2 separate regions of the Homo sapiens genome follow, and region 1 is linked to region 2. Evidence: promoter capture Hi-C in 16 types of primary human blood cells and fetal thymus (Javierre and others, 2016). All regions are on one chromosome and are shown on one strand. Each heading gives the region's core, a stretch centred on a gene start or on the middle of the fragment in contact. The rest is flanking DNA. Distances are from core to core; before and after follow the strand shown. Region 1 overlaps ARMCX5-GPRASP2 (ARMCX5-GPRASP2 readthrough). Region 2 holds the start of TMSB15A (thymosin beta 15A).

Region 1 (4,880 bases), core at 749-3,248, 380 kb after region 2:
ATAATTCTAGGTTTAGAATCCTGGAACAATAGTTTATAAGGTAGTTTCCCTAGATCAAGTTACCAGTCTTTTAATTTGTGTTCCCTGATCCAACTAATGGGCATAATTATTGGTACTGGATAGAATTGTTGAAATCAAAATGAGATGAAATATAAAATACCCTTTATATAGTAGTTGTGTACCTGTTAATAGACTACCATCCAGGTTCCCTTTCCAAAGGGCCACAGCTTGGTCTAGTTCAACATCTCAGAGATCAGCCAGTCCATGTACATACAGAAGATACTTTATCTTCCATTTAGTAGTGTAACTTGCTTATTTAACTGTAGTGGGTAGAATTGTGTCCCCCTCAAAACATGTCCCAATCCTAACCCACACAAACTTTATTTGGAAATAGGTTCTATGTAGACATAATGAAGTGAAAGATCTCCAGAAGGGAATATCCTGAATGTAGGTTGATGCCTAACTCCAATGACTGGTATCTATATAAAAGAAAGCAGAGGGAGATTTGACACATCCAGGGAAGAAGGCCATGTGAATATTGAGGCAGAGATTGAGTTATGCCACCTCAAATCAAATAAAGCAGGAGCCACAAGAAGCTGGAAGAGCTAAGAAAGGATTCTCCCCTAAAGGCTTTGGAGGCAGTGCAGTCCTGCCTACACCTTGATTTTGTACTTCAGGCTTTGGTTTTGTACATCGGAATCATGGCATAATAAATTGCTGTTGTTTAAATATGCAAAGTTTATGATAATTTGTTATGGTGGCCCTAGGAAACTATTACATGTACAAACATCATACCCCAAATGTCATTGATTATGAATAAACATTGGTCAATACCCTAATTTTTTTTCATGGCTACAGGGATACGAATGCCAGTAAGACATGTGAAAAGTATTTAAAAGTGCCAACATTTCGTAGGTACTATATGCTTTTAATGTATTGGATCATTCAGTGCCCAGAACACACTTATGAGTTAAATACTATTGCAGAATTCAATTTTACAAATGGAAAACTGAGGGACAGAGAGGATAATGACTTTGCCTAAGACTGAACAGTTAAGGAGTGGGACAGCTTGGACTTATGTCCAGTGCATCATGCTCTAGAGCCTGGGAAACTGTGAAAGCTCTGTTGTTAGGTGAAAGAAGCAGTCTGCAAGCATACATACTTTAGGAGCTCATTAAAAGTAATATGCCCTATGTTAGTGTATTTATACAAAACCTGGACCTAGTAAGAAATGGGTGGATTATGACTTTGGAGAGAATGTTCATGGCAATCCCAGAGACAGAAGCCATAGGGCAGTGGGATGATGAGTGGGAAGTGAAAAATGTTAACAGAGCATGTAGAAAACTCTTTTTGGTACTTCGAATATGAAGGAGAAGAAGGATAAGGGAGGGAGAGACAGAGACAGGGAGAACTGTATCCTGTAGCTGAATGGGTGATAAGGGGGTCCAAGGAGAGATTTTTTTTTTAAATCTTCAATTTCTTGAAACTTGACCAAGTTAAAAGCTAATGTGAAAAAAAAGCTATCTCAGAATTAACCCTTGAAGTTGACCACATGTTTATTTCCCTTATGCTTTTATATCACATTGGAGCTCATGAGATACCTCTGATGGAATAGAATGGGTTTGAGCTCAATAGGTATTTAGTTATTACCTAATGAAAGAATAGACATTGTGTGTGAAGAAATGCTAGTAACTCTTGGATTTTTGTCTCTCAGGGAGGCAGCAGATGGCTGAAATTCTGATCCGATGTGGCTGGTTAATGCATGATCTGAAAACCCCTGCACTGGTGATTTTGGGACAGATCTAGAATATACCAATAAATATATTAACATACCAAGTAGTCTAGGAGCAGCCACTGGGCGAACACCAAACCTTGCATCCCTGCTGCTGTCTCTGAGCTCAGCAGGTAAGTTCAAAGACATGCCTGTCTTCCCAGTGTGGGGAACTAAATTTGGGTCATCTCAGAAGCATGATGTTGGGCAGCTCTTACGAGCTTCTGATAACACCCACGAAGCAGAGAAACTACTGTCTACAAAACTTTGAACTCAAGGCATGTCACAGGGACATTTGCTTTCTTCAAATAGATGTCTGTGTTCTCATAAGGGGGAGCAATGAGAAATGATTTTTCACAATGCCTGCCTTAGCACTGAGGCTCAGCCAGCCCCTAGTGCTGTGTCCCATTTAAAGGCCATTTAAGTCCCACCCCATGCCATATACTCTCAAGAGGTTTCCTCATATACCCATCAGACAGCTATGTAAGGATGGTATGGTCAGTCCCATTTCACAGATGACTAACCTCAGGCTCACAGAGCCTAAGTCACCTCTTCAGGTAAGTGGCAGGGTTTGAATGAAATTCCATCCCTCACCCTCCCTAGAGTACCCTGAGCAGCCTCCCTTTTAGAAGATGGGTTTCTGGGCTTGAGAAATGGTGAGATTTCACCCACCTGCTATTGTAACCCCATGAGTCTTTACTCAACAACTTTTCTGGGTGAAGATGACAGAGGTGAGATCCCATTCTTTGTGCCAAGAGACCTGTGTGTAGGGACACATGAGTTGGCTGATGCCTGAAGTGGTGAGTGGGCTCAGGCAGAAACTCAAGTGTTGTACTTGAGACAGGTGAGCATATATATGTGTGTGTATATATATATGAGTTTATTAAGTATTAACTTACACAGTCACAGGGTCCCACAATAGGCTGTCTGCAAGCTGAGGAACAAGGAGAGTCAGTCCGAGTCCCAAAACTGAAGAACTTTGAGTCCAATGTTTGAGGGCAGGAAGCATCCAGCACGGGAGAAAGATGTAGGCTGGGAGGCTAGGCCCGTCTCTCTTTTTCACATTTTTCTGCCTGCTTTATATTTGCTGGAAGCTGATTAGATTGTGCCCACCAGATTAAGGGTGGATCTGCCTTTCCCAGCCCACTGACTCAAATGTTAATCTCTTTTGGCAACACCCACACAGACACAACCGGGATTAATACTTTGTATCCTTCAATCCAATCAAGTTTACACTCAGTGTTAACCATCGCAACTCCTTTAGGCAAATGCACTCTGTATTTCATCTTCTTTAATGTCAACAGCTATTCAAGTTACCCACAAGAATACCCACTGAATTATGACCATTATTCAGATCAGGGTACTTTAGGCAAGTTTCTGTACATCAGGGAAATACCTTTGTTGTGTCTCGATTAGCAGGTAATTCTGAATTATTCTAAAGTTTTCTCCAGTTTGTCTCTGTGCCTCCTGGTCTCGGGAATGATCTAATCTCCTTGGGCACTGCCATTACATGTTCCAAGGCAGTTTAACATTTTTTTAAAAATTGTGATCCATGTGGTTTTAAGTCAGAAGATAATTTAAATTGAAAAATTCTAAATTAAAAAAAACTAAGAATAGCGTAAAAACTCTGGAAAAATCCGTACAAACTAGAGCTGAGATACTGGATTAGAATTCATGCTTTGTGAAGCACACTAACAAAGAGCTTGGCAAATAATTTCAGTGGAGAAGTCAAATAGTTAGATACATGAACAATAAACACATTAACTATGCCAAAACCACAAAAACTAATAAGATGTAAATATAAATCCTGAGAAGAAAAGTGGAAAAAATAGGTTGCAAAAGAAGATAAGGATGTGATTCGACCTTTGGAACAGACTGTGTGTGTGTAGGTGAACATATTTGTGTGCATCTCACTTGTGGAGACACATTTCACAGTATGCACCATTCTGTGGACAGCAGACAACTAGGGGTCAGGGATTAGGAGCTGCTCCAGTGAGAGATACAGGTTAATTTCAATTCATATATGTGTTTTTATATATTGTTTTACATTTTATATTCAGGAAAAAGTATTTTGATGAAATATTAAAAACAATATGCTGTGAACATATTGACAAGAGTATGGTACACATATATTCCTTACTTCAGGCATTCATTTATTCAATTTCCTGGGGAAATAAAGTAGATTTTTAAAAAATGAATTGACTCACACGCAAGTGTGTGTGTGTGTGTGTTCTAGCTCCTCTAGCTCTACCACCTCAAATACAGTTCACAATTGCAGCATTATCCCCAGTTCAGACTGATGCTGTACTTCCAATATCAGATTTAGATATCCCCGAAAACGTACTTTTTTATAACCCAGAAAAATGATGGATACAGAGGGATTCCTGTAGGTACGTAAAAAATTCCAGAAAACTGGCTGATCACATTAATCAACCTCCCAACCTCCATCCCTCCCTTTCCCCTGCTGAACTCACCAGTCAGCTCTCAGAGTTGCAATCCTGGCTCTGGCCACTAGGAGACATCGCAGCCATCTTCACATTTGTTCTTTTTTAAGGAAAAGGAGTACATCTAACAAACAGTAACAGATGTTATAACATGGTTTGTTCACTGAAATACCAGTTGTTTGGAGTATTCGCGTGTATATTAAAGCAGTTCCATTTGCTGTCGTCCCCAAATCTACATCGCATTCATTGATTCATCTCTTCCCTTCTCTGTTGGTAGAGGTTTCCACATTGTAGGAGGGTCCCTTCCAGAGAGCAGGGCGTTCGTTCACTCTCCATTACCCCACCCCTGTATAGGCTTCCTGGTCCTTCTACCACTGCCTCCCACTCATCCCCTCTCCAGGGGCACAGCTGCCCAGACCTGCCCCTTGTGCCGTCATCCTCTCTCAGTCACCTCTCACCTGCCCTGATGCTCACTTAAGATTCTGTCTTCCAGCAACAGCCAAGGAGTGTTAGACCTACCTGGTGTTTCATCCTATGGATGCCCCACAGTATATGTATTTGCAGTCTTCTTTTACACTTACCAGTTTTTTTTTCCTTTGACAGAATTAGAATGAATCATTCTGCACTTAGGCTTATAAGCTGTGGTTTAAGAGAAGTATTTTTTG
Region 2 (4,280 bases), core at 666-3,165:
TAGTAATTTTCCAACAAGAAACTAGTTTTCCCCCCCATTCCTATTAAGACTTATGTGAGAACTACTTATATAACCCAAGTAGGAAGATGACTATTTGATGTTTTTAACTGTTACATTAAACACCATGGTACTCTAATTATTGCTTACTTTGTGGCAAAAATTTACTAGAAGATAGGTTTATTTACTGAACCTATTAACTTTCTCTACTGTGTGTTTCCACTAGAACCCCCCATGACTTACTTTCCTTTGAGGGAAGAGTATTTTTTTCTTCAGTATTAGTTTTCTTCAGTTTTGACCTGTCAAACTTCTCCACTTCCGACAAGTCTGGCTTATCACTCATCTTGACTAGAAGATAGCCTGAAAAGAATAAACATTTTTAAGAAAACTTACCTGGCAGAACTGTCTTCGGACTAAGGGGTCACAAGCAAAAATTTTCATATTTCATATCAATGTATATTCTACCCGCTCATTTTCAACAGAAAAACAGCAACAGATCTTAGAAAAGTTATATTTTTGTTAGAATAATTTTAACTCCACATCATTAGCCCATTTTGATATGCAGTAAATGCCGTTGGATCAGAACGCACCAGAAACCAAGATTCTCCAGAAACCCAGAGCCAATATGTCTGACTCTTAAAATCACAGCAAGGGTAAAATGGAGGTGATAGAAGCACAAGAGCAGACAGGGACAGAATAAAAAATAAAGACTGGCTTTAACCAGTTAATGATTTTGTAACAGGAGATAGCACTATTCGAGCATCTTCACTTTCTATTAAATTACTTTTGTTTTTTGGCATTTTTTTTTAGGAGACGGGGAGCAGCACAAAAAAAAAAAGAGTGGCATAAGTTGTACTAATTTCTTTCTATTTTAAATGCCCAAAGATGACAGTACATTAAGGCATTACAATACACGTCTCATAATAGCTCCTTGTGGCATTGGTGTATAAACGTTGTAAGAAGGGACAGCTAACTAGGATCAAACCCAGGACTTCAGCAGAATGGGATAAACCAAATAAAAGCGAGTCTTGTTTCACCATGTTTTCTCTGCAAAGAGAGAGGTAAAGAGATGAGGCTTAGAGGTGCATGGCTGTGGACCTGACGAAATGCCTGGTGCCCTGTAAGCGTCCCGAGTTTGTCCAGAAGAGACAATAGGATATCCCAGAAATCGGAGGGCAGAGTTCTCATTCGCAAGCCCAGCCCCACCCTCGTGCAGTAAGATACTATGTCTAGTGCTTGGGGTAGAATGGAGAGGCCCCCAAGCAGCCAGAAGTGCCGAACATGCCTCCATTCCGTCGAGTTTACCCTAAGACCCTCCTCTGCCAAGCCATTAGACGCCAAGCTCAGAGCTGGAAAACTGGAACTAACAAATAAATAATAGCAGGGCCGGGTGCGTAGGCCAGTCTGTCAAGAGCAGTTTGCATACTTTTAAAAATAACTATTAGCTTTTTCTGGCGCCCAGCCTAACGGCCACGGGAGGAGAAGGAATGAGGACCAAGCCCCAGGGGGCCCATTCCGGGCGGCCTCCAAACTCCTCATCCTCTAAGCCTCCGACCTGCAGCTACTGCGGACAGGTCCCTTTAAGGGTCCGCGCTCCCCGCCTCCCAACCCCGGGGCCTTGTTTCCAGGGACCGGCCCCCAGGAGGGCTCGGCATCGAGCGCAGAAGGCGGCCCCCTGGAAGACAAAGGCGCGGACTCGCTCGCCCGGGCGGCGGTGCAGACGCGAAGCGCCAGCCCCAACCTCGGCTCCTCTGGCTCCCGAAGGCGCGGCATCCCCCGCCTCGCAACCCTGACGCCTTCCCATCCCCATGGTCCTCTGGCTCCTGCGAGGCCGCAGGTCCTCACCTGAAAGCTTGAAGACTCGTGAAAGGCTGTTCGCGGGGCTGAGACCCAGACTCGCTCCGGACCAGGTTAGCGTTCCCGCGCAGAGCCCTGCAGTGCTAAGCCACCCAGCAGGCCCCGCCCCAGCCCTCTCTGATTGGCCAAAGGTTTCCGGGCTCGCCACCCCCCCCCCCCCACCCCGCCCTTCCCCTCCTCCGCTTGAGTGTACAGAGCCCGCGTCCACCCTCTCCTCTAGGATCGGGGCTTGGTGAAGTCAGAGCCGACCCCGCCTCCCCAGGCCCCACCTCCCAGGCCTCTTCCACTGCTTTAGTCCTGAGGGTCCACATACCCTTCATCCTGACTACACTCACTCTTTCACAATAACAGAGGCCTCTGCAATAAGCAGACACATCTCGCCCAGTGAGCTTAGAACATCTGGAACTCCGAGGTCCAAGCTGAATGACCGGTATTTAGGCTCTTTCGGCTTTTTATAGCCATTGGGGCCCAAGGATGCTGTGATAACCTAACAGTAGGTTGGAAGTGGGGCTCGGTGTTGTCTGCTCTAATCCTTGGCCAGGTCGTGGAGTAGGGGTGCTCATAGTGAGGGTGGGTGGTTCAGGGCCATTCACCCCTACAACTGGACATTTCTGTGACAGTAGTGCTCTCCTATGAAATGTAAAAGTCACATTCGCAGCTTTCTCGGCCACTGAACACGATAGCAGTTTATAATAATCACAGAACAACTGAGGCTATTCACCTTTATATCCCTAATCCCTAGCACTTTGGCCCACAAGACACATTGGTTGTGGAGATGTCTATAGATTGAAGTAATAAATACGTGATGGGTGGAAGTTTTGGACAATAGCACCACCCAGTGTCTGTTGGAAGAGAAAATTGAGGATTCGGTATTTACTTGAAAGGACTAAACGTTCAAGATCATTTTCTGGATACTCACCCAGAACCTTAGAGCATTAAGGTAAGATGGAGGTAGAACTATGTCTTTAGCTTGCACCCCATGTGTGGTGGTATAGATCTATATAGATCGAAAGTCACTCTTTCCACAAGGATTTCTCAAGGCTTCCCCAGCTTACTTCATTCCCTTTTCTTTGCTTTTGTAGCACGTTGTGTTAATTTGAGAATTGTGTATGTTTGTTGGAGAAACTTTTAAAACAGAAAGATATGCTCATTCAACAAGTAATATTCATTGAGTACCTACAGTGTTCCTGGCATTAAATATAATAAACACCAGTGTTTTCACTACACAGATTTCAATGTTGTTAACATTTAGGTATACTTACTTTGTCTTTCTTTTAAGGACTAAAAGCGTTACAGAAAAAATTGAGGTTTCCTTGACCTTCACTTCATTTCCATTCCCCCTCCCACTTGCCCAGGGGTAGTCCTATCCTGAATGTGATGTGTAGCTTTCAGCGTATTTTTCTGTCATTACAGATTAATGTGATTTCTGTTTCCAGGAGCAAAATGAAGCATTGTTTGAACAAGTGATCCAAGGCTAAGACCACACCCCTTACTTCACTTGGGGTTGACAGGAAGCTCCAGACAACCACCCCTCCATAGCCCAAACCTCAAAATCCTGCCACCCTGGTCTGCCTTGAATCATTAGAACTTATCTAATGATGACATTTATCTCCATTTGTGCGAGTCACCCCAAGACACCCTTCAACTCCTATATTCTAACTGCCATAAGGTTGTGTCCACATCCGCTCTTTAGTTCACTTTTCTCACCGCTCCTCTACTAATAAAACACAATACACCCTCGGTAATTCCTCCATATTTTAAGCCTCTTCTCTGAATTTCCCCTTCCATGAGGATTCCAGATCCCCTGAAGCCCACTCATGAGGAGCAGATGATTTTTCACTCCTACCACCACTGTACCACAGATCCTAAAGCTTATGTAAGGGACTTTGCTGCTTCTCATTGCTGTCTTTAGATAGCAATTCCCCTCCTACCCCCCTAAAAACTTCCAGCTTTTGACAACTTATGTCATTGACTAGCCTTTGTTGTTGACATATAACAAATTTCAACTATTCCCGGCCGGGCGCGGTGGCTCACGCCTGTAATCCCAGCACTGTGGGAGGCCGAGGGGGGCGGATCACAAGGTCAGGAGATCGAGACCATCCTGGCTAACACGGTGAAACCCCGTCTGTACTAAAAATACAAAAAAAATTAGCTGGGCGTGGTGGTGGGAGCCTGTAGTCCCAGCTACTCGGGAGGCTAAGGCAGGAGAATGGCGTGAACCCGGGAGGCGGAGCTTGCAGTGAGCGGAGATAGCACCACTGCACTCCAGCCTGGGTGACAGAGTGAGACTCTGTCTCAAAAAATAAAAAATAAAAAATAAAAATTCAACTATTCCCCACTCATTTTTCAAAAATTTTAGCTCCTACAACACAGTCATTCTCAAAGGTAGTTGTCCTGCTTTAATTCTTGGTAAATTCAAGAATGAT

Evidence for each region. The method cuts DNA at HindIII sites, captures the fragments that hold promoters and counts their contacts. A CHiCAGO score of 5 or more calls a contact.
Region 1: a fragment that was not itself captured here is called in contact with the fragment with the promoter of TMSB15A in region 2 in 4 of 17 cell types (erythroblasts, megakaryocytes, endothelial precursors and 1 more); the score reaches 6.4 in erythroblasts.

What each region holds. Positions count from the first base shown.
Region 1 is chrX:102,895,860-102,900,739 of GRCh38, forward strand. It overlaps ARMCX5-GPRASP2 (ARMCX5-GPRASP2 readthrough), which reads left to right. Exons shown (of 19, transcript NR_146584.3): 15 at 1,715-1,905. It overlaps LINC00630 (long intergenic non-protein coding RNA 630), which reads left to right. Exons shown (of 12, transcript NR_146589.1): 6 at 1,715-1,905. Among named protein-coding and RNA genes, the nearest start is that of RAB40AL, 39 kb to the right of the region's middle. The HindIII fragment of the contact is 5,900 bases long and covers 1-4,880 here.
Region 2 is chrX:102,514,824-102,519,103 of GRCh38, forward strand. It overlaps TMSB15A (thymosin beta 15A), which reads right to left and starts at 1,916. Exons shown (of 3, transcript NM_021992.3): 1 at 1,843-1,916; 2 at 241-357. The coding sequence starts at 340. The HindIII fragment of the contact is 1,876 bases long and covers 1,848-3,723 here.